Linked DNA regions of Homo sapiens: all the other regions are linked to region 6. Evidence: promoter capture Hi-C in 16 types of primary human blood cells and fetal thymus (Javierre and others, 2016). All regions are on one chromosome and are shown on one strand. The core of a region is centred on a gene start or on the middle of the fragment in contact, and the rest is flanking DNA. Distances in the headings are between cores, read along the strand shown. Region 1 has its middle 29 kb from the start of PLEKHM3. Region 2 overlaps LOC105373854 (a long non-coding RNA gene). Region 3 overlaps PIKFYVE (phosphoinositide kinase, FYVE-type zinc finger containing). Region 4 has its middle 33 kb from the start of CRYGD. Region 5 has its middle 11 kb from the start of CRYGD. Region 6 holds the start of FZD5 (frizzled class receptor 5). Region 7 holds the start of IDH1 (isocitrate dehydrogenase (NADP(+)) 1).

The links. Contacts are between HindIII fragments. The CHiCAGO score rates a contact against its expected background, and 5 or more counts as called.
Region 1: a contact is called between a fragment that was not itself captured here and the fragment with the promoter of FZD5 in region 6, in 9 of 17 cell types (megakaryocytes, M0 macrophages, M2 macrophages and 6 more). The highest score is 15.7, in megakaryocytes.
Region 2: a contact is called between a fragment that was not itself captured here and the fragment with the promoter of FZD5 in region 6, in 13 of 17 cell types (megakaryocytes, erythroblasts, M1 macrophages and 10 more). The highest score is 32.8, in megakaryocytes.
Region 3: a contact is called between a fragment that was not itself captured here and the fragment with the promoter of FZD5 in region 6, in 1 of 17 cell types (erythroblasts). The highest score is 5.0, in erythroblasts.
Region 4: a contact is called between a fragment that was not itself captured here and the fragment with the promoter of FZD5 in region 6, in 6 of 17 cell types (megakaryocytes, erythroblasts, M0 macrophages and 3 more). The highest score is 10.6, in megakaryocytes.
Region 5: a contact is called between a fragment that was not itself captured here and the fragment with the promoter of FZD5 in region 6, in 1 of 17 cell types (megakaryocytes). The highest score is 5.1, in megakaryocytes.
Region 7: a contact is called between the fragment with the promoter of IDH1 here and the fragment with the promoter of FZD5 in region 6, in 4 of 17 cell types (neutrophils, total CD8 T cells, megakaryocytes and 1 more). The highest score is 6.6, in neutrophils.

The regions. Positions count from the first base shown.
Region 1 is chr2:208,052,940-208,055,639 of GRCh38, reverse strand. It overlaps the pseudogene RNA5SP116. Among named protein-coding and RNA genes, the nearest start is that of PLEKHM3, 29 kb to the right of the region's middle. The HindIII fragment of the contact is 3,051 bases long and covers 1-2,700 here.
Region 2 is chr2:208,071,008-208,073,707 of GRCh38, reverse strand. It overlaps LOC105373854 (a long non-coding RNA gene), which reads right to left. Exons shown (of 4, transcript XR_923815.3): 3 at 1,348-1,445. Among named protein-coding and RNA genes, the nearest start is that of PLEKHM3, 47 kb to the right of the region's middle. The HindIII fragment of the contact is 3,248 bases long and covers 1-2,700 here.
Region 3 is chr2:208,273,713-208,276,412 of GRCh38, reverse strand. It overlaps PIKFYVE (phosphoinositide kinase, FYVE-type zinc finger containing), which reads right to left. Exons shown (of 42, transcript NM_015040.4): 3 at 2,680-2,700. Among named protein-coding and RNA genes, the nearest start is that of PIKFYVE, 8.8 kb to the right of the region's middle. The HindIII fragment of the contact is 3,746 bases long and covers 1-2,700 here.
Region 4 is chr2:208,090,255-208,092,954 of GRCh38, reverse strand. No RefSeq gene overlaps it. Among named protein-coding and RNA genes, the nearest start is that of CRYGD, 33 kb to the left of the region's middle. The HindIII fragment of the contact is 3,045 bases long and covers 1-2,700 here.
Region 5 is chr2:208,111,772-208,114,471 of GRCh38, reverse strand. It overlaps the pseudogene CRYGEP. Among named protein-coding and RNA genes, the nearest start is that of CRYGD, 11 kb to the left of the region's middle. RefSeq lists an enhancer at 2,242-2,700. The HindIII fragment of the contact is 578 bases long and covers 1,061-1,638 here.
Region 6 is chr2:207,768,656-207,771,355 of GRCh38, reverse strand. FZD5 (frizzled class receptor 5) reads left to right here and starts at 1,450. Exons shown (of 2, transcript NM_003468.4): 1 at 1,450-2,091; 2 at 2,362-2,700. The coding sequence starts at 2,617. RefSeq lists enhancers at 1-385, 550-599 and silencers at 1,150-1,829, 2,170-2,229, 2,640-2,699. The HindIII fragment of the contact is 9,976 bases long and covers 1-2,700 here.
Region 7 is chr2:208,253,621-208,256,320 of GRCh38, reverse strand. IDH1 (isocitrate dehydrogenase (NADP(+)) 1) reads left to right here and starts at 1,250. Exons shown (of 10, transcript NM_005896.4): 1 at 1,250-1,382; 2 at 2,362-2,435. IDH1-AS1 (IDH1 antisense RNA 1) reads right to left here and starts at 1,088. Exons shown (of 2, transcript NR_046452.1): 1 at 890-1,088; 2 at 127-418. RefSeq lists an enhancer at 1,016-1,542 and a silencer at 1,996-2,105. The HindIII fragment of the contact is 4,060 bases long and covers 1-2,700 here.

The sequences.
Region 1 (2,700 bases), core at 167-2,666, 280 kb before region 6:
AATAAAGATACCCTTGAAAGCCTGCTGCCAGAAAATACAGTACAACAAAGAAGCACAAAAGGTTGCTGGCTGCCAGGTATAATTTCCAGGTACTCCAAGTGCATTTGGACTCCCTGTTCTCTTAGCTTTGCTTTGCAGATTGGCCGTCTTCGTGGTAGGCTCGAAGTATCCATTTAGTCACCCTAGTGTGTTATCCAAATATTTAGAAGGAGAAAAATTGTGGGAAAATAACCTTTAATTTTACAATTCTCCAAAGGAAACTGTTCAAAATTAAGAGGTCTAAGAAGCTAAGAATGAGTGTTAATCTATTTTTCTGTTTATTACCTATCACTTTGGATAATCTGGAAATAATTTTGACAGTGGGATAAAAGTTGAAGTTGGGGTAAGAGTCCAAATTTTCGCAAAGTAGCTTACATCAGAATAAAGTCGCTGTCAATTAGATTGCTTGCATATAGATATGCGAGCTGTTACCCCTATCCATTACATAATCTTACTCCAGCAGGGGCTGCCAAAAACCTGTAGGCAGGAAAGATTTACACTCAGTTCTTCATAAGTACCCAAAAGAAAAGAAATCACTTTAGAATGATTATATAAGTTAAAGAACATGGCCAAGTTTGTGCCTTGAACTTTTAGTCTATCAATTAGCAATAGTAATTGCATACTGCTGAGATGTTTTAGAGACTGAGATGGTGTTTTAAAAGTGTTTTGTGCTATTCAGAGGGAAATGCAATTTACGTCATATTTTAGAATGTGAATTATGAAGGAAATTGTCTCTTTTTCTTCCTTATTCCCCTCTTCCCCCTCCTCTACCTCCTTCTCCTCCTCCTCTTCCTTTTCCTCTTCAGATTTTCCCTCTTTGCCTACAACATTAAGAGAGACTATTCACATTATAAAGACATTGATTTCCTTAAATGATCTGTAAATTCAATGTATATGCCAAATAAAACACCAAGGTGATTTTTTTCAACCTGACAAAAATAACACTAAAGTTCTTCAAGACATATAAATGGGCAATTAGAAAAACTCTGAAAAACAAGAGTAGTGAGAGGGTAATTAATACAACTATACATTAAAATGTATCATGGAGTTATAATAATTAAAATATCTTATTCTAGAGAAGAAATAGAATAGCTAAATAGAATAGAATGGAATAGAAGAGAATCAACAGAAATAAACCCAAATACGTATACAGATTTAATGTGTGAAAAAGGTAGATGAGTCGAATTTATAGGGGAGGGATGGGAGAAGGGAAGATGTATTAATCAATAGACAGTGATGAGAAAACTGGCTAGGAATGGAAAATAAAATAAAATGGATTCTTTACCATGCTCTTTATATTCCCAAATTTCCAGAGGATTCAAAGATAGCAATATAATACATACTCTATGGCCATACCACTCTGAATGCCCCCAATCTTATCTGATCTCAGAAGCTAAGCAGGGTTAGGTCTGGGGGCCTGCTTAATACTTGGATGAGAGAAATGTAATATAAACAAGTAAGTGTATATATGTGTATATATATGTATATATACACACACACACATACACATGCATAAGTATATATATACACACACATATACTTATATGTATATATTATACTTGTTACATATACTGGTTTTGAACTACTATTATATATATTAGATTATATAGTTGGTGAATTTATATATAATCTGGAGTATGAAATATATGTTAATCTAGGAGTTGTATATAATCTAGGAGTTTTTAAAAAACTGGTGAATTTATATATAATTAGGAGTTTTGAGTGAATTTATTTATATATAATAAATATATAAATAAATAAATTTATTCATTTATTGGTGAGTTTATTTATATATAATCCAGGAGTTTAAAAATAATTTCTAGGCTGGGTGCTGTGGCCCACACCTGTAATCCCAGCACTTTGGGAGGTCAAGGTGGGAGGACTGCTAGAGCTCAGGAGTTGCAGACCAGCCAGGCATGGTGGTGCACACCTATAGTCCAAGCTACTTGGGAGGCTGAGGTGGGAGGATGGCTTAAACACAGGAAGTTGAGGCTGTAATGAGCTATAATTGTGCCACTGCACTCCAGCCTGGGCAACAGAGTGAGACCCTGTCTCAAAAAAGAAAAAAAGAAAAGAAAACGTAAAATAAAATAATAAGATTTTTTCTTCATTTTTTTTGTTTTATTTTTTATACCCACACTACACAGATGTAATATAAAAAGACTTTCTAGGCAAGACACACAATTCTAAAGTCTTAAAGGAAGAGAAAAATGTGAATATATACAAAGTGGAAAAAATATTGCAACATTTGGCAAGCAAAGAAAATCATTAATATACAACTTCTTGTACAACTCAGTAAGTAAAAACAAATCAAAAAGAAAATGGTCAAATCTATTAAAATCTTTGTCTCATTCACAATTAAATAACTGCATATAAAAATAATGAGTATATCCATATAATGAAATATTATCTGGCAATAAAAAGCAGAATTATTAAATAACTGCCAAAAAGTATAAATAACCCAAATTCTCATCAACTGATGAATGGATAAACAAAATGTGCTGTATCTATACAAAAGACTGTTATTCAGCCATAAAAAGGAATGAAAAACTGACACGTGCTACAACATGGATGAGCCTTGAAGACGTTATGCTAAGTGAAAAATGCCACACACGAGAGCATATGTTTTATGATTCCAATGACATAAAATGCTCAGAATAC
Region 2 (2,700 bases), core at 121-2,620, 300 kb before region 6:
TTCTCCTGCCTCAGCCTCCCTAGCAGCTGGGATTACAGGCACACGCTACCATGCCTGGCTAATGTTTGTATTCTTAGTAGAGACGGGGTTTCACCATGTTGACCAGGCTGGTCTTGAACTCTTGACCTCGTGATCTGCCCACCTTGGCCTCCCAAAGTGCTGGGATTATAGGTGTGAGCCACCGCTCCTGGCCCTTTTCTGCTCATCTTTAACAAAATATTGAAATGTGTTTTCAAGGCTGGGTGTGGTGTCTCCCACCTGTAATCCCAGCACTTTGGGAGGCTGAGGCAGGCCGATTACTTGAGCTCATGAGTTCAAGACCAGCCTGGGAAACATGGCGAAATCCCATCTCTACAGAAAAATGCAAAAATTAGCCAGGTGTGGTGATGCATGCCTGTGGTCCCAGCTATTCAGAAGGCTGAGGCATGAGAATCACTTGAACCCAGGGGGTGCAGTGAGCAAGATCATGCCACTGTACTCCAGCGACAAGAATGAGACTCTGTCTCAAAAAAAAAAAAACAACAAAACAAACAAACAAAAAAACAAAAAATAAAAAAAGAAGAAAAGAAGCCAGATGCAAAAAAGTACATATTGTATGATTTCATTTTTATAAAATATAAAAACATGCAAAAGAACTCTATACTGTTAAAATCACAAGGGCACGGGTGGGTTTCTGGGTTTCTGGTGACATTCTGTTTCTTGATCTGTGTACTGGTTACAGGGGTGTGACCAGTTTTTGAAAATTCATTGAACTAGACACTTACAATGTGTGCACTTTTCTGTATATATGTAATACTTTAATAAACAGGGTTTTTAAGAGTAGCGTAAGTTGCTTGAAAAAAATTTGCAGGATAGATGCCTTGAATTTATATTTTCTCCTACGTGCTGCAGTCAGCTAGAGTGAAGTGTGAAAGGCTCACTCTTGACATTTGGGCCCTTCATTCCTCCTTTATTCATCCATTTAACACATATTTATTGAAGAATGGTGTCAGGCACTCGGAGGCAAACAGAGTCCCTGCCCTCATGCAGACTACAGCCTATGCAGAAAGGGAGGAGACAGACGTCAATCAAATAGTCATACGAACACACATATCAGAGATGGTGAGAGAAAGGGGGGATGCTGAGAGGCCTCTCTCAGACCTAAAGGGTGAGTAGGCTTTGGCAGAAGAGGATATTATAAAGGGAACAGTGGTCTGGTGGCTTTTAAACGTTAGGCTTAATTCGTCCAGTAGAGGGCGACCACAGCCAGGCATTTGTGGCAATTCCTACTGCATCAGGAAAGCTGAAGGCTGAAGGTTTGCTTATCATCATCTCTCACTGAGTGTTGAAGGAGCACAAACTACTCACCAGAAACTAAGAATCCAAGTGTAAATTTACAGACGTCAATGTTGCTGTCTACCATTGCCCAACAGTTTGATGCAGATTCCTACCAAATGCCTACTGACCTTAATAAAGAAAAAAGAAAAAAAGTTAATAAGGCACAATTAAAGGAATCAAAATAAAAGCCCTTTTCTTGATTTGCACACATCCTCAAAGAGCTGCCTCAAGCACAGATACATACACATGTGACGTTTTCTTATTTATTAGTACTCCCCTCCACACAAACACACAAGTGCCTCATATCTGCTGTACCCCACATCCTCTACGGAAAGCATGCTACTGTGGATCTACCTCATGGATTATTGGTTTTATTCAGGCAGCTGATGAACAAATATAATTTTATATGTTGCCTATAGACATAAGGCAAAACAATCAATAATTTCCCACATCCCATTAAATGATTAGGGATGTAATCAGGATTAAAAACCAAGATATTTCCAGCGTACTTAAGGATAGATTTCTTTAACATCTACTATATATCAGCACTAGCGAGACTCTAAGTCATGTCACTTCCTTCCTTTAAAATTAATTCCCACTGCAGGCTGGGTACAGTGGCTCATACCTGTAATCCCAGCACTTTGGGAGGCCAAGGTGGGTAGATCACCTGAGGTCAGGAGTTTGAGACCAGCCTGGCCATTATGATGAAACCTCATCTATACTACAACTACAAAAATTAGCCAGGCATGGTGGCACACGCCTGTAATCCCAACTATGCAGGAGGCTGAGGCATGAGAATCACTTGAACCCAAGAGGCAGAAGTTGCAGTGAGCTGAGATCATGCCACTGCACTCCACCCTGGGTGATAGAGTGAGACTCAGTCAAAAAAAAGAAAAAAATCCCAATGCAATTAAAAATTTTCAGTTTTTTAAAAAATGAAAGCAATTCTCTGACAGGTAAAGGCCTGTGTGGTCTAGCCATTATCTATTATCCCAGACTAATCTCCTTTCCTTCTCATTATGTTTCAGACTTTCTTGTTTCCATGAAATTGCCATTTTCCATTTGCTGTTTCCCTTGCCTGAAACATTCTGCTTCCATCATCTAACTGGAGGCTTCTTATCATTCAAGTTCCAAATTGTTGCTTCCTAGGAAAAGACCTCTTTGACCACTCATTCCTGTCTGCCCTTCCCAACATGCAAAACAGAACCCTGATCTTTGGCTGGAAATGTTTTGGGTTTTGTTTGTTTGTTTGTTTGTTTGTTTGTTTGATGGAGACAGAGTCTCTCTCTGTCGCCCAGGCTGGAGTGCAGTGGCATGATCTCAGCTCACTGCAACCTACGCCTTCCGGGTTCAAGCAATTTTCATGCCTCAACCTCCCGAGTA
Region 3 (2,700 bases), core at 115-2,614, 510 kb before region 6:
CATTAATGACTCCTTAAGCCCTTTGGTCCAACCTATAATAAATGCATGCTAGAAATTTAGCAGAAGAAAAAGCAATCAAGGAGGGTTAACTTAGCTTGGTCTCTAAAGTCAAACAGGTAAGCAATAGGATCAAACAGTTCAGTTCTGTCTATATCTGTAGACCATATATCCAAAGTCTCATACAGAAGATGATCAGAAAGAAGTTTAATAGCCCAGCCTTCAAAGATTCTGACAGACTTCACAACATCCAGGATGGCAAATTTTGCCATGGTAAAACCTGACCTATGTCCAAGCAAATTAAAACTGCCAGAAAATTGCTAAAACTCCAATCCTATCCTTCCCTGTCACTTCCCCAACCCCACAGCTCCAAATAGGAAAGGATCATTTATACCTGACATAGCAATACTGAAGCCAAATCTATCACTAATAAGCCCAAATTCCAGCCTCATGGCCAAAATAGGGTATGCCCACCAAAGTTGTCACTTATTATTTCCTTAATTTAGACCAAAATTACAACTGAAGTTTCTGCCTATTTCTGGCAGTTACAAAACCTAAGCATGAAGCAAAGACGTTTTGACAAAAAGGATGAACATCCTATTAGCTTAAACCCATCAAACTGATAACCTATGGCAAAGTAAACTGGAAAATACCCCACTCTGAATCTTCCTCAAACTCACCATTTGCTAGATAGGTGCTGTTTTGGCTGGGAGGGAAAAAAAAGAATTACAAAGAAATGAGAGGTTGGGATCTAAAGTTTACAAAGAATTTCCCAAGATAATGTAATCACTGAAGTAACTACCAAAATTGTACCTATTTTAGAAAACTTTGGCAACTTTTATCTTTCTATAAAGTTATATCTTAATTTTAGCACATACCTCAGATGTGTTGCTACTGTATTAGAATAACTAAACTTGAGTCTCAAAACAAAAAACAACTCCCCATGATCTACAAATTGAAAAAGAAGACAGATGAAGCTACTGGAAACATAATGGCTGTGCTTCCGTGCAGCAGGCAAAAACTTGTGAAGTCCCTGGCATTTAGCCAATTAGGAATATAAGAAAGTAGTAATAGCATCATCCGCTGAAAAAGGATGAGTGAGACCCTTCTTGGAACCAAGAGAATCACAGATGTTGGCTGAAGATGAAAGAAACCCAGAGAGAAAATCTGGTCTAGCTCTATGCCCTTAGGCAAATAGCCTTAGCTGCTTCTCTTGCAAAATGAACATTAGAAAATTAAATAACTTTCCTAAGGTCGGAAAGCTAGTAAATTATAGAATTACAGCCCTTTTAATAGGGAAAAGAACTTGACTGGCCAAATAACACCAGGCTTCTGAAGCTCAAATGCCTTCAAGATAGAATCAAATAATCAAGCAGACTTGAGAAGGACAGTAAGGAAACTAGACAGTAAAGGCTCCACCTGGAGATATTAAAGTTCAAGTTGATCATAATACCAATGGCAAGGTTTGGCAGGCTGCCAATTTGTAACTCCTAAAATATTACATTTTAGTCTAACTTGATTTTAGAAATAAAAAAATCCTACACTCAATTCAGCATGGGATTTAGTCAAAACAGCTCCCTCAACAAAAAGAGTGTTGTTGTGAGTCAGATTCAAGAGCTAAGGAGAGTTTATTGAGGTTAAAAGTTAAAATAGAGATTATCTGGAATAAAAGGAGAGCTCCTTTCTTTCTCCCTCTCCCACTCCCCATCTTCTGATTCTTCCCTCCAAATGGCTGATGTAACCCTGGCTGAGGCTCACTGCCCTAGAAAACCTGTGCAGGTGATGCAGCCAGCTCTGTGCCAGTCCTCGGGTAGAAACTCTACTTTTGCTCAGTTTCTCTTTGTTCTGGCTGACCAAGTCTGAACTCACAATAAAATATCCTTCTGCCAACCACCACTATCTGGGGGAAGATCAGCCACACCAGACGAGATCTGGTGTTCTGGGGCATCTAATTCCCAATGCTGCATCCCTTCCCCTCTATCATGCCACCTCCCACTTCCTTTGTCACCTTGACTTAGGCAAACCACTCCAAGTTGAAAAATCTGACAGAAATAAAACATAAACCACCTCTCTTTTTCTAATCTCTCAATTCTGACACCAATCCCCAGCCCATACTCATCAGAAGAGCATGAAAATGAAGGAGATGACTGTGTAGTAGACCAGAATGGAAAACAGACAGATGAGAGGAGCTCAGCTTATTCAGCCACACTGACAGTTTGCACCCCAACAAGGACAGAAGGCCAAGAGCAAGTGGCAGCCCAATAATGGAGTTGACAGAGTTCTGCAGCCAGAGGCATGCATATCACATTTCACTAGCACCCCAAGAACAGATGCAGAATTCATTCACAAAGTGGAAACTAACCTGTGTTCTCCTGGGGATGTTGCAAACTGTTGTCTGCTGAAACCCAAGCAAGTAATTAATCAAAAAATAGTCAAGAAATCTGTGCCTTGCCTAAATTAAAGTTTAATGAGACGTTTAAGAATTTTTTCAGGTGTCAATAAATTCTTTCACTACCGAGGTAAGAGTTTTATTTACTCTAAACAGTACCTGACTATTTCAAATAGTATCTTACTATTCCAAATAGCAGGAAAGTTAAGTCCTGCTATAAACAACCTAGGAAACACAATGACTGTGGAAAAATCTAGCATATAGAAGGGAATGAAATAAGAACACTGTTTTACCTAATGCTGAAGAGCGCCGCT
Region 4 (2,700 bases), core at 80-2,579, 320 kb before region 6:
AACTTGTCTGGGTTAAGAAACCCAAATAGCTGGGAATACATTATTTCTGGTATATCTGTGAGGGTATTTCCAGAAGAAATTGGCTTTTAAATCAGTAGAGTAAGGAAGACCCATCCTCACCCAATGTGGGTGGGCACCATCTGATTAGTTAAGGGTCCAAACAGAACCAGAAGGCAGAGGAAAGCTGAATTTGCTCTCTCTTCTGCAACTGCGACACCATCTTCTCCTGCCCTTGGACATCAGAACTCCAGGTTCTCTGGCCTTTGGACTCCAGGATTTGCACCAGCAGTCCCTCAGTTTCTCTGGACTTTGGTCTCAGACCCAGAGTTACACCAATGGCTCTCTTGGTTCTCAGACCTTTGGACTTGGACTGAGCCATGCTACCAGCTTCCCTGGTTCTCTACCTTGCAGGTAGCCTGTCAGGGGACTCCTAAGCCTCCATAATCACAGGAGTCAATTCCCATAATAAATCCTCTTTCATCTATCTGTCTATCTATCTCTCTATCCATCCATCCCATTGGCTCTGTTTCTCTGAAGAACCCTGACTAATTCAGTGGTCCTCAACTGTTTCAGCCTTAGAATACTCTAAATGGCTGAAGCAAACCCTGGAGTTGGGAGATAGAGTCAATGAGACTTAAGCCACATGGAATGAGAATGAGGAAGAGGTCACATGTAGGTCAAACATAACAGCTGTTGCTTATCTTTTACTGGGTGTTCTCTAAGCAAAGTTGGATCTAAAGTATTTTGGGGATTAAATGCAAAGCATTGAACACTTATCTTTAGCAAGAGAGATTTCTGTTCATTTAGACTTCTTGAAGCAGTCTACTTTATCTTCAATTATAAATTTAGGTTGGGCTATTGAAAATGTTCACAAAACTTCATTACTTTTGAAAATATAAGCTGGAAAAATTTCTTTAATTAACAAATTTAATTGATTGAAATTAATTAATTAATTTTTATTTATATTTTTATTGAGATGAGGTCTGTTTTCTAAGGAAAAGAGGAGTACTTGAAGGTAGAATGGATTCCAAGAAGAAAAATCAAAACAAAACAAGTGCTCCACCAACATTGCACATGTATACATATGTAACAAACCTGCATGTTGTTCACGTGTACCCTAGAACTTAAAGTATAATAAGAAGAAGAAGAAGAAAGAAAAAAAAAAACAAGTGCTCATCACCTGAGTATGCTCACTACAAAGTCCAAAGAAAATTGATAACTTGCTTCATGCCACAGCATGTAGCAGACACTCCTGCTAACAAACAGGCAAACTAGTCACTGGCTCCCTCATTCACTAGGAACACAGACACTGACAGTGGAGTCTATGGAGAGCATCTCCGATTTCCCAGTTAGCACCCTATCACATGCAGCTTTATGAAGTAGAACATGTTTCTTCTTCCTTGAAATTTAGACTGTTTTAAGCCTGGCATGGTGGCTCATGCCTGTAATCCCAGCACTTTGGGAGGCCGAGGCGGGTGGATCACCTGAGGTCAGGAGTTCGAGACCAGCCTGGCCAACATAGTGAAACCCTGTCTCTACCAAAAATACAAAAGTCAGCTGGGCATGGTGGTGGGTGCCTGTAGTCCCAGCTACTGGGAAGGCTGAGGCAGGAGAGTTGCTTGAATCTGGGAGGCGGAGGTTGCAGTGAGCCAAGACTGTGCCATTGCACTCCAGCCTGGGTGACAAGAGCAAAACTCCATCTCAAATAAATAAATAAATAAATAAATAAATAAATTTAGACTGTTTTAAAAAATATGACTGAAAAATTTCAGGTTAGATAAGCACTTCCTGTTGGTAAAGGTGAGTAGACCCTGGAATGGAATTATTATGTAAAGTTTTAAGATTTTTCTATCATGAGCTATGTAGAAAATAGGGCCAATAAACTTACTGATCTCTTAAAGGCAAGCCTTAGAGTAATCTACAAATAAATAAATAAATTTAGACTGTTTAAAAAAAAGTGTACTGAAAAATTTCAGGTTAGATAAGCACTTCCTGTTGGTAAAGGTAAGTAGACCCTGGAATGGAATTATTGTGTAAAGTTTTAAGATTTTTCTATCATGAGCTGTGTAGAAAATAGGGCCAATGAACTTACTGATCTCTTAAAGGCAAGCCTTAGAGTTATCTACAAATTATCCCATGCCTTTGAATGGCCAGGTCTCTTCAGGGTTCTCCAGAGAACTAGAACCAACAACATATGTGTATATAAGAGGAGATTTGTAGTGAGGATTGGCTCATGTGATTATGAAGGCTGAGAAGTCCCACAATTTGCTGTTTGTAAACTGGAGAACCAGAAAACTGGTGATGCAATTCCACTGGAACTCTGAAGTCCAAGTCTGAAGGCCTGAGAAACAGGAGAGCTAATGGTGTATGCTCCAGTTCAGACCCAAAGGCCTGAAAACCAAGAGCACTGATGTCTGATGGCAGAGAAAGACAGATGTCCCAGCTCAAACAGAGTGAATTCACCCTCCTCTACTTTTTTGACCTATTTGGGCCCTAAAAGGATAAAATTATCCATAAAATGATAAAATTATTGTATTGATGAACTTAATTTTCTTTACCGAGTCTACTGATTCAAATGTTAATCTCTTCCCAAAACACTTTCACAGACATACCCAGAAATGTTTTACCAGATATTTCAGCATCCTTTAGCCCAGTCAAGTTGACGCGTAAAATTAAGCAACCCACTACTATATACCTAAT
Region 5 (2,700 bases), core at 100-2,599, 340 kb before region 6:
TTAACATAGGATGTGTTTCCACTTATTTATGTCTTCTTTAATTTCTTTCAATATTTTGTAATTTTCAGAGTATAATATACTTGTTTTTTTTTTTAACTTGACATATGGTAAGCATTTTCCATACCCTTAAATAAATTCTTTGACAACATGATTTTTGGTAGCTGCATAGCATCTCATCAAACAAGTGTTCCATGATTTATTTAAACAATGCCCTATTCTGGACATTTTATTTGTATCTAATTTTCTATATTATAAACACCATTCTGATAAAATATCACTGTTCATAATCTTTGTATGCATCTTTAATTTTTTCCATTGGACAAATTCCTAGAGATGGAAATATTAGATCACAGGTGTGAGAATTAGGAGTTTTTAAATATACATCAACAGTGCTACTTTTTATACAAAACTACGGCTTAAAATCTTTTCTCCTTTCTACTGCTTTATAGTTTCTAAATTTTCCACAAAAGTTATAATTTTTAAAAGAGAAATATGTAAATGAGGCTTATTAAACTTACGTGGATCACATAAAATTTGTCCAGAGAAAGCTATTTTTTAGTATTAGACTTAGGTAGCAAGAATCCAAACTAAGGAGTGAGACTGGGTGCACCAAAGTTATTCTAAATCAGTGGTTCTTAGTGCGGATGGGGAGTGGATTTGCTTTCCAGGGAACCTTTGGCAATGTCTGCAGACAGTTCTGCTTGTCACGACCGGACAGTAATGCTACCGGTACCCAGATGGTAGAGGCCAGGATGCTGCTCAATGTCCTGCAATGCACAGGACAGCCTCCCCACCCAGCAGATAATTTTTTGGGCCCCAAATGTCAAAAGAGTGCTGCGGTTGAGAAACCTTGCTCTAAAGAGAGTGGAACACCAGGAGGGACAGGGTCCCGGCAAAAGGAAGGAAGACCCCAGTCCCTGGAGTCAGAGCCTTAACTAGAGAGCCACGAGGGTTTTGCCCCAGGGTGAAGAAGGCAGAATCTTTGCAAGATTGCAGGATCTTCAATGTGTTATATTTGCATGTTAACTTGCATTTGTCAGCAGCTAGAACCAACTAAGCTTAGCCTTTAGTTAGCAAAGTTGTTAAATAGAAAGTTACCAGTGTAATAACCGCCAAAGTGTCACTTCATGAATCCCACAGTTGAGAGTTTCATTGCCTGTGCTGAGGCAGGCACGGTGCTGAAGCTGAAGACTTCCCTGCTTCCACCCAGGCTCCAGGGATCAGAGCTGAGGCCAGGTGCCTAAATAGGGCTTCCCCAGGCCCAACCCCTGGCGTCCAACCTCCTGCATTAGTTATCTGATACCCTGCTTATCAGCAGGTAGGATCATAGAGAGGTTCTCTTAAAGGAGAATCACATCCTACTGTAAACAGCCCGAGGAGAAGGCAAGTTCATCCTCACGTTTCACATTTCACACCAATCTAAACAATACAGCCTCATGCTGTAGTCTATTTCGACCTTAGACTTGGTCGCTATTCTGCTTTGTTGCTCAAACTGAACTTTTAAAAGGTAAATAAAACATTTAATTACAATTACTAACTCTTAAGCACTTGCTCAATTCCAATTTCCCAAATAGGCTTTATGTAAAGGCCCAAATGGCACTAAGTGACAGTTTTAACCAGATCATCAATTCGAAAGCTTTAGAGAGTCTAAAAGAAAACATACAATAAACCTCCCACCCCCTCCCCTACAGTCATTATATGGAACAGAGAGAGAGAGAAAAAAAAATGCCCTTGCTCCCCTCCGGGGGCCCCTTTTGTGCGGTTCTTGCCAACACAGCAGCCCTCCTGCTATATAGCCCCGCCGCGCTGCCGCCCCACCCGCTCAGCCCCGCCGTGCGCCCAGCCAGCCATGGGGAAGGTGAGCCCAGCCCGTGCCCCCCGGTAGCTCCCTGCATGGCGGGGGCCGGAGACTGGGGCAGGGGCAGGCCTGTGAGACCTCGCCTTGCCTCGCCTTGCCTTGCAGATCACCCTCTACGAGGACCGGGGCTTCCAGGGCCGCCACTACGAATGCAGCAGCGACCACCCCAACCTGCAGCCCTACTTGAGCCGCTGCAACTCGGTGCGCGTGGACAGCGGCTGCTGGGTGCTCTATGAGCAGCCCAACTACTCGGGCCTCCAGTAGTTCCTGCGCCGCGGCGACTATGCCGACCACCAGCAGTGGATGGGCCTCAGCGACTCGGTCCGCTCCTGCCGCCTCATCCCCCACGTGAGTGCAGTCCCACCCGGGCCCTTCCGTGCCCTCGAGTCGCATCAGTGATCCACGTGGATGATTCACACGACAGGCGATGGGATGCGATGGCAGGCTTCTTTTTTCTGGCTCTAACTATATTCTCTTTTCCTTTATTAACATGCGTAAGGTTTCCTCCCACTGAAAAAGTATGTGATGCAGTGCTTTTAACTGGTCATTTTATTTTATTTTGCTAAAGTCAAATTCACCTCTACTGGGAATAAGTTGTGCGTGGCATTAGCTCAGAGCGTCTATGCCACAGGTGATGAAACAGCAACAGATTAATTCCTTGCTCTCAGGTGGCCATAGGCTAGGTGGCTATTTCTTTTACGTCATCTGTAAAAAGGGCTGATGAGAGTAGTTCCTTTATAGGGTTCCAATGAGGGTAAAAGGAGGGTGCCTGGCACATGCCAATCCCCAACCCCGAGTATTAACTATTATTATGAACATCAAGGGTCTCTCAAGTCCTGCCT
Region 6 (2,700 bases), core at 201-2,700:
AAAACTTGTAGCATAATTGCGCAACTGAAGAGCGCCGCCGTGTCCCCGCCATCGGTGCGCCCTCCGACCCCCCGCGGCGCGCAAGTGCGCGGCTTAGCAGCAGGCAGCCGGGGACGGAAGGGCACGGGGAGGCCGGCGCCCTGCCCAGCACAGAACCCTGGGTCGGTATCGCTTCTCTCTGCGGGCGACTTCGGAACTGCCTGGGATTATAAACCTCGACCAATAAAGGACTCACATCTTTCTGGGTCTTCTAAAGGCAGAAAGAAATCCATTTTCTTGTCACAACAAGATTTTGTTAAGAGATGCAAAAGTAAAGGTCGAAGCCAGGGAGGCTGCGATAGTATGGGGGGAGGGGCGGCTACGATGGTGAGTGCCGCTGACCAACTACCTGGGTTCGAATCCCAGGGTTGCCATTTGGGCGGCTACTATGTGCCAGGTGATCGGAATACGGAGGTGAACTTGCTTGCCGAGGTCGCCCTTTCTTGGGGGAACTATGATTAGCTCGGTTGCCTTGGCCAAGTCTCAGTCTCGGTTTCTTCACCTGTAGGAAGTACCTGCCTCAGAATTGTTGTAAGGAGTGAGATCTTGTCTTAAGATGTAAACGGGCCGGGCGCGGTGGCTCACACCTGTAATCCCAGCATTTTGGGAGGCCGAGGCGGGCAGATCACGGTGTCAGGAGTTCGAGAACAGCCTTACATGGTGAAAGCCCGTCTCTACCAAAAATACAAAAATTAGCTGGGCGTGGTGGCGGGCGCCAGTAATCCCAGCTACGCAGGAGGCTGAGGCAGGATAATCGCTTGAACCCGGGAGACAGAGGTTGCAGTGAGCCGAGATCGCGCCACTGCACTCCAGCCTGGGAGACAGAACAACTCGTCTCAAAAAAAAAAAAAAAAAAAAAGGATGTAACCGATTAACACTTTGTTGGGCACACAGTAAAGGGCTCAGTAAGTATCCTCTCTTCTTTCACACAGTTCCAAGACAGCTCGGAAGGGAGACAGCCACGCCTAAGAGTGATTCCTTGAGCAGTTCTTTCAAAGAAGCACTGAACTCTGTAAGGACGCTTAGCTGCAGGCAGAAAGGGCAGGGGCCCTGGGAGCAAAGGTGCATAAGCCAGGAAGTTACAGGAGCGAGTCCTGCACCCAGGGCGCGGGCAGAGAACTCCGGAGGGACTTCTGGCAAGGGCTTCCCGCCCGGGTGCCCAGAGCGGCATGATTAGCATTCGCCCCGCCCCCATCTCCTCCAGGCCCGCGATTGGTCAGCGCTCCTTGGCTGCCCGCTCCTGGCGGGGCCAGAGGGCGCCGGGGGAAAGGCCGAGCCCGCGGGGCAGTGGGCGGGGACGCGCGGAGAGCTTGGCGAGGCGGCCCACCAACCGCGCCCGGGCCTGAGGGGGCGGAGCCGGGGCGGGGCTTCCCGGCGGGCATTAGAAGCAGGTGACCCGGGCGGGGCGGGAGAGGGCAGCCAGCCTGCGGCCGTGAGTCCGCTGTGGTCGCCGCCGCGCGCGGTTCCGTGCTCGCCAGAGGTGGGCGAAAGGGTGCGAGAGCGCGGGGGAGGAGCCGAGCAGGGCACGTCCCGAGAGCGTCGCCACCGCCCCCAGGAGTCCACTGGAGCGCGGAGCCCCCTGCAGGGGAGGAGGCGAGCGGCGGGCGGGACGCGGCGGCCGGCGCTCACCATGCAGTCCCGGCCTGGCCAGCGCCGGCTGCTCGCGGTGCTGTGAGGCGGCGGGGTCCCACGGCCCCCGCCTCCCGCCTTCCTCCCGCCCAGGTGCTGCCAGGCGCGCTCGCCCTCCGTCCGGCTCCCGGCCCCGGGGAGAACGCACGGCCTGCCCCTGCCCGGCTCCGTCTGGATCATGCGGGGGGCTCCCGAGGAGGAGAGGGCGAGTGACCGGCCTGCGCCGCCCCTGTTCTGGGGGCGCCCCCCACTCTGAGTCGCCCCCACCTGCTGCCATGTGCCGCTGCCACGGGTACCCAGCCTGTCGCTAAACTTTCCGGGCGCCAGCCCGGCTCTGAGTCGCGCTTCTCAGCGGAGTGACCCAGGGACGGAGGACCCAGGCTGGCTGGGGACTGTCTGCTCTTCTCGGCGGGATCCGTGGAGGTGAGAACCTTCCCTTTCTCCCTGTTCTTCTCCCGTTTCCTGTGCCCTTTTCCGGGAAGCTGAGGGTTCTGGTCTCCGGGCACTGCCTGAAGGGCCCAGCTTGGAAAGAGAGGGTGGGGGAGTCGGTAGTTTGGTTACAGGAGGCGGAGCGGGGAGGAAAGGAAAGGGGTTAACTTAAGAGATTTGGAGACAGCTCGCGGGGACCGAACTGTTGACGCCTCTCCAACAGGGAGTGGTTGCAATCTTTCTTCTCCCCCTTCTTTTTTAAAGAGTCCTTTCCCTGGAATCCGAGCCCTAACCGTCTCTCCCCAGCCCTATCCGGCGAGGAGCGGAGCGCTGCCAGCGGAGGCAGCGCCTTCCCGAAGCAGTTTATCTTTGGACGGTTTTCTTTAAAGGAAAAAGCAACCAACAGGTTGCCAGCCCCGGCGCCACACACGAGACGCCGGAGGGAGAAGCCCCGGCCCGGATTCCTCTGCCTGTGTGCGTCCCTCGCGGGCTGCTGGAGGCGAGGGGAGGGAGGGGGCGATGGCTCGGCCTGACCCATCCGCGCCGCCCTCGCTGTTGCTGCTGCTCCTAGCGCAGCTGGTGGGCCGGGCGGCCGCCGCGTCC
Region 7 (2,700 bases), core at 1-2,500, 490 kb before region 6:
ACTTGAACCCAGGAGGCGGAAGTTGCAGTGAGCCGAGACTGCACCAGCCTGTCAGGGCAAGACTCTGTCTCATAAATAAATAAATAAATAAATAAATATTGGAGCATTAAATTCTGGGCAGCAATATACAAGCATGCTATTGTCCTACAAATCACAATATAAAATACTCTTTATTTTCATGTTTTTGAGAGCAATGAACACACAAAATATAATCTCTGGAGGAGACTAAAATTCTTTTTTCAATCCACCGTTTTCTAAGGCTTCACATCTCTAGTCCAACTTCATTGGATCACAGATAATCCCCCGCCAACTGAGCATGGTGGCTCACGCTTGTAATCCCAGGACTTTGGGAGGCCGAGGAGGGCCAATCACTTGAGTCCAGGAGTTCGAGACCAGCCTGGGCTGCTGAAACCCATCTCTACCAAAGGAAAAAGAAAAGAAAAGAAAGAAAGAAAAATTAGTTGAGTGTGATTGTGTGCACCTGTAATCCCAGCTACTCGGAAGGCTGAGGTGGGAGGATCTCTTGAGCCCAGGAAGTCAAGGCTGCAGTGAGCGGTGATCGCTCCACTGCACTCCAGCCAGGGCAACAGAGCAAGGCCCTGTCTTAAAAAAGAAAATAATAAGAATCCCATTCATTATCTTCTAATGCAAACAATCAATGGAGTTTCTAAAGACCTAGACATAGGTGGTGTCAGGACCTGCTTCTGTAACTTTTCCATCCTTTGCATTAGGCAGCGCGGAACCCCCTAGGCGACCCCGCGCTGGCCGGGAGCACTCTTTCTTCAGCCAAAGGTACGTTCCATTACCGCCCCTCGGGGGCGCGCTAGGCAGCGGGCCGGCCAAGCTGCCGCCGCCCAGGGCGCCCTGTCCCGTTCGCTTTTGTGCCGACCTGGAAACACTCTGTGGTGCTCTAGATTGTTACAAAGTTCGGGGTGGTGCAGCCCCAGCGCGCCCCGCTCCCCGGCCTGCAGGTGGCATACAAGTCTCTTCGCTGTCGGGATTCGGGACTGAATCTCTGCCGGGCGGCAACCCCTTCCCCCACCGGGATCACCGGGAAAGTGGCACCATGGATTCTCCATCTTTGACTGTGGCCACGCCCCTCTCGCTGACTCCGCCCATCCCACGGGAATTGGCGTGTGGCGATTGGAGGCGTGTCGGGGGCGGGGCTGGGGGAGGTGGGCTGAGGAGGCGGGGCCTGGGAGGGGACAAAGCCGGGAAGAGGAAAAGCTCGGACCTACCCTGTGGTCCCGGGTTTCTGCAGAGTCTACTTCAGAAGCGGAGGCACTGGGAGTCCGGTTTGGGATTGCCAGGCTGTGGTTGTGAGTCTGAGCTTGTGAGCGGCTGTGGCGCCCCAACTCTTCGCCAGCATATCATCCCGGCAGGTAACCTCAGGCTCCAAGGGGCGGCCCCGGTCCCTGGCTGTGGAGGGGTGGCTCTAATTCCGCAGAAGGCAGGAATGGGGTAAAGGAAAAAAGCGCAGATCTTGGGTGTGGAGGGAGTCAAGGCCTGCGTGCAAAGAAGGGAACAAATCCAGGTATTGAGAATGGGAAAAGAAAAGGGAAGGAGGGGATGCTGGATGCTTGGATATGCAGAAGGTCTGCTTTTGGGCCTGGGAGGGAGAAACTGGGCGGTGAGGAAGTTGGATGCAACGACAAGGGGAAAATCAGGTCTGCACTTGGGTTGGAAAATCGAGGGGTGGAAGTTGCAAGAATGCATGTAGAAGACTAAGCCTGGAGTGTAGGAGGAAGAAAACGTGCAGCAGCTGGGGGCTGGATGCAAAGAAGGCTGTAAGCCGCAGACGGGCGTCTGCAGGCAACTCAGGCGGCGAGGAATAGCCTTGAAGCCGATCCCTCGCGTCCGCCAGGGGGCGTGGAGGGGCGGAGCTCCAGCGGCCTTCAGAGGGGTCGCTAGGCCACACGGGGCGAGAGGGGGCTGGGGGAAACACCCCCGCCAGTTCCGGGTGCCTGGAGTTTAAAAGGTCCCAGCACCAGCGAGGGGAGGGGAGGGGAGGGGCGGGCGTGGAGACCTGGAAGGAGGTACCGATCCAGCCTTGATTGCAGCCCTCTTGCACAACGGCCATAAGGACGGGTGCAGGCCAAGAGCAAGGACATGCAAACCCCAAGACCTGCTAACGGGCGGCGAAGCGGGGGCACGCCCTCGCACACGCAGAGATAAATTGTGCTCCCATGACCTTTATTTGGAAAGTGCCTGCGGGCCTAAAATTGGCCTTTGTCCCACCGAGTACACTCAGCACTGTACTTTAAACCGGATAAACTGGGCTGTCTGGCAGGTACTAAAAACAGCTAAATTCTCCTGTGAGTGTTCTGTATGTTAACACTTTTATTCCTTGTTTTGTTTTAGGCGATAAACTACATTCAGTTGAGTCTGCAAGACTGGGAGGAACTGGGGTGATAAGAAATCTATTCACTGTCAAGGTGAGAATTAGCAAATTTTCCCCCTTCTTCTGTACTTTCTTTGATGTGGCAGTACAGTGTTTAACTGGTCTTGGGGGCAGGCCGAGGCACTGCAAGGGAATGAGTGAGGAATATTTCCAACAACGAATTCCAACAGCTTCCTTGTTTCTTTTAATACAGTGTCTTATCTGCAAGAGATCCTTTTTGCCCAGAAATTATTGTAGTTCATGAACTCGGCAAAAAACAATCTGGCCAAAAACTTGAGGTTGATGAAAATAATATTAAA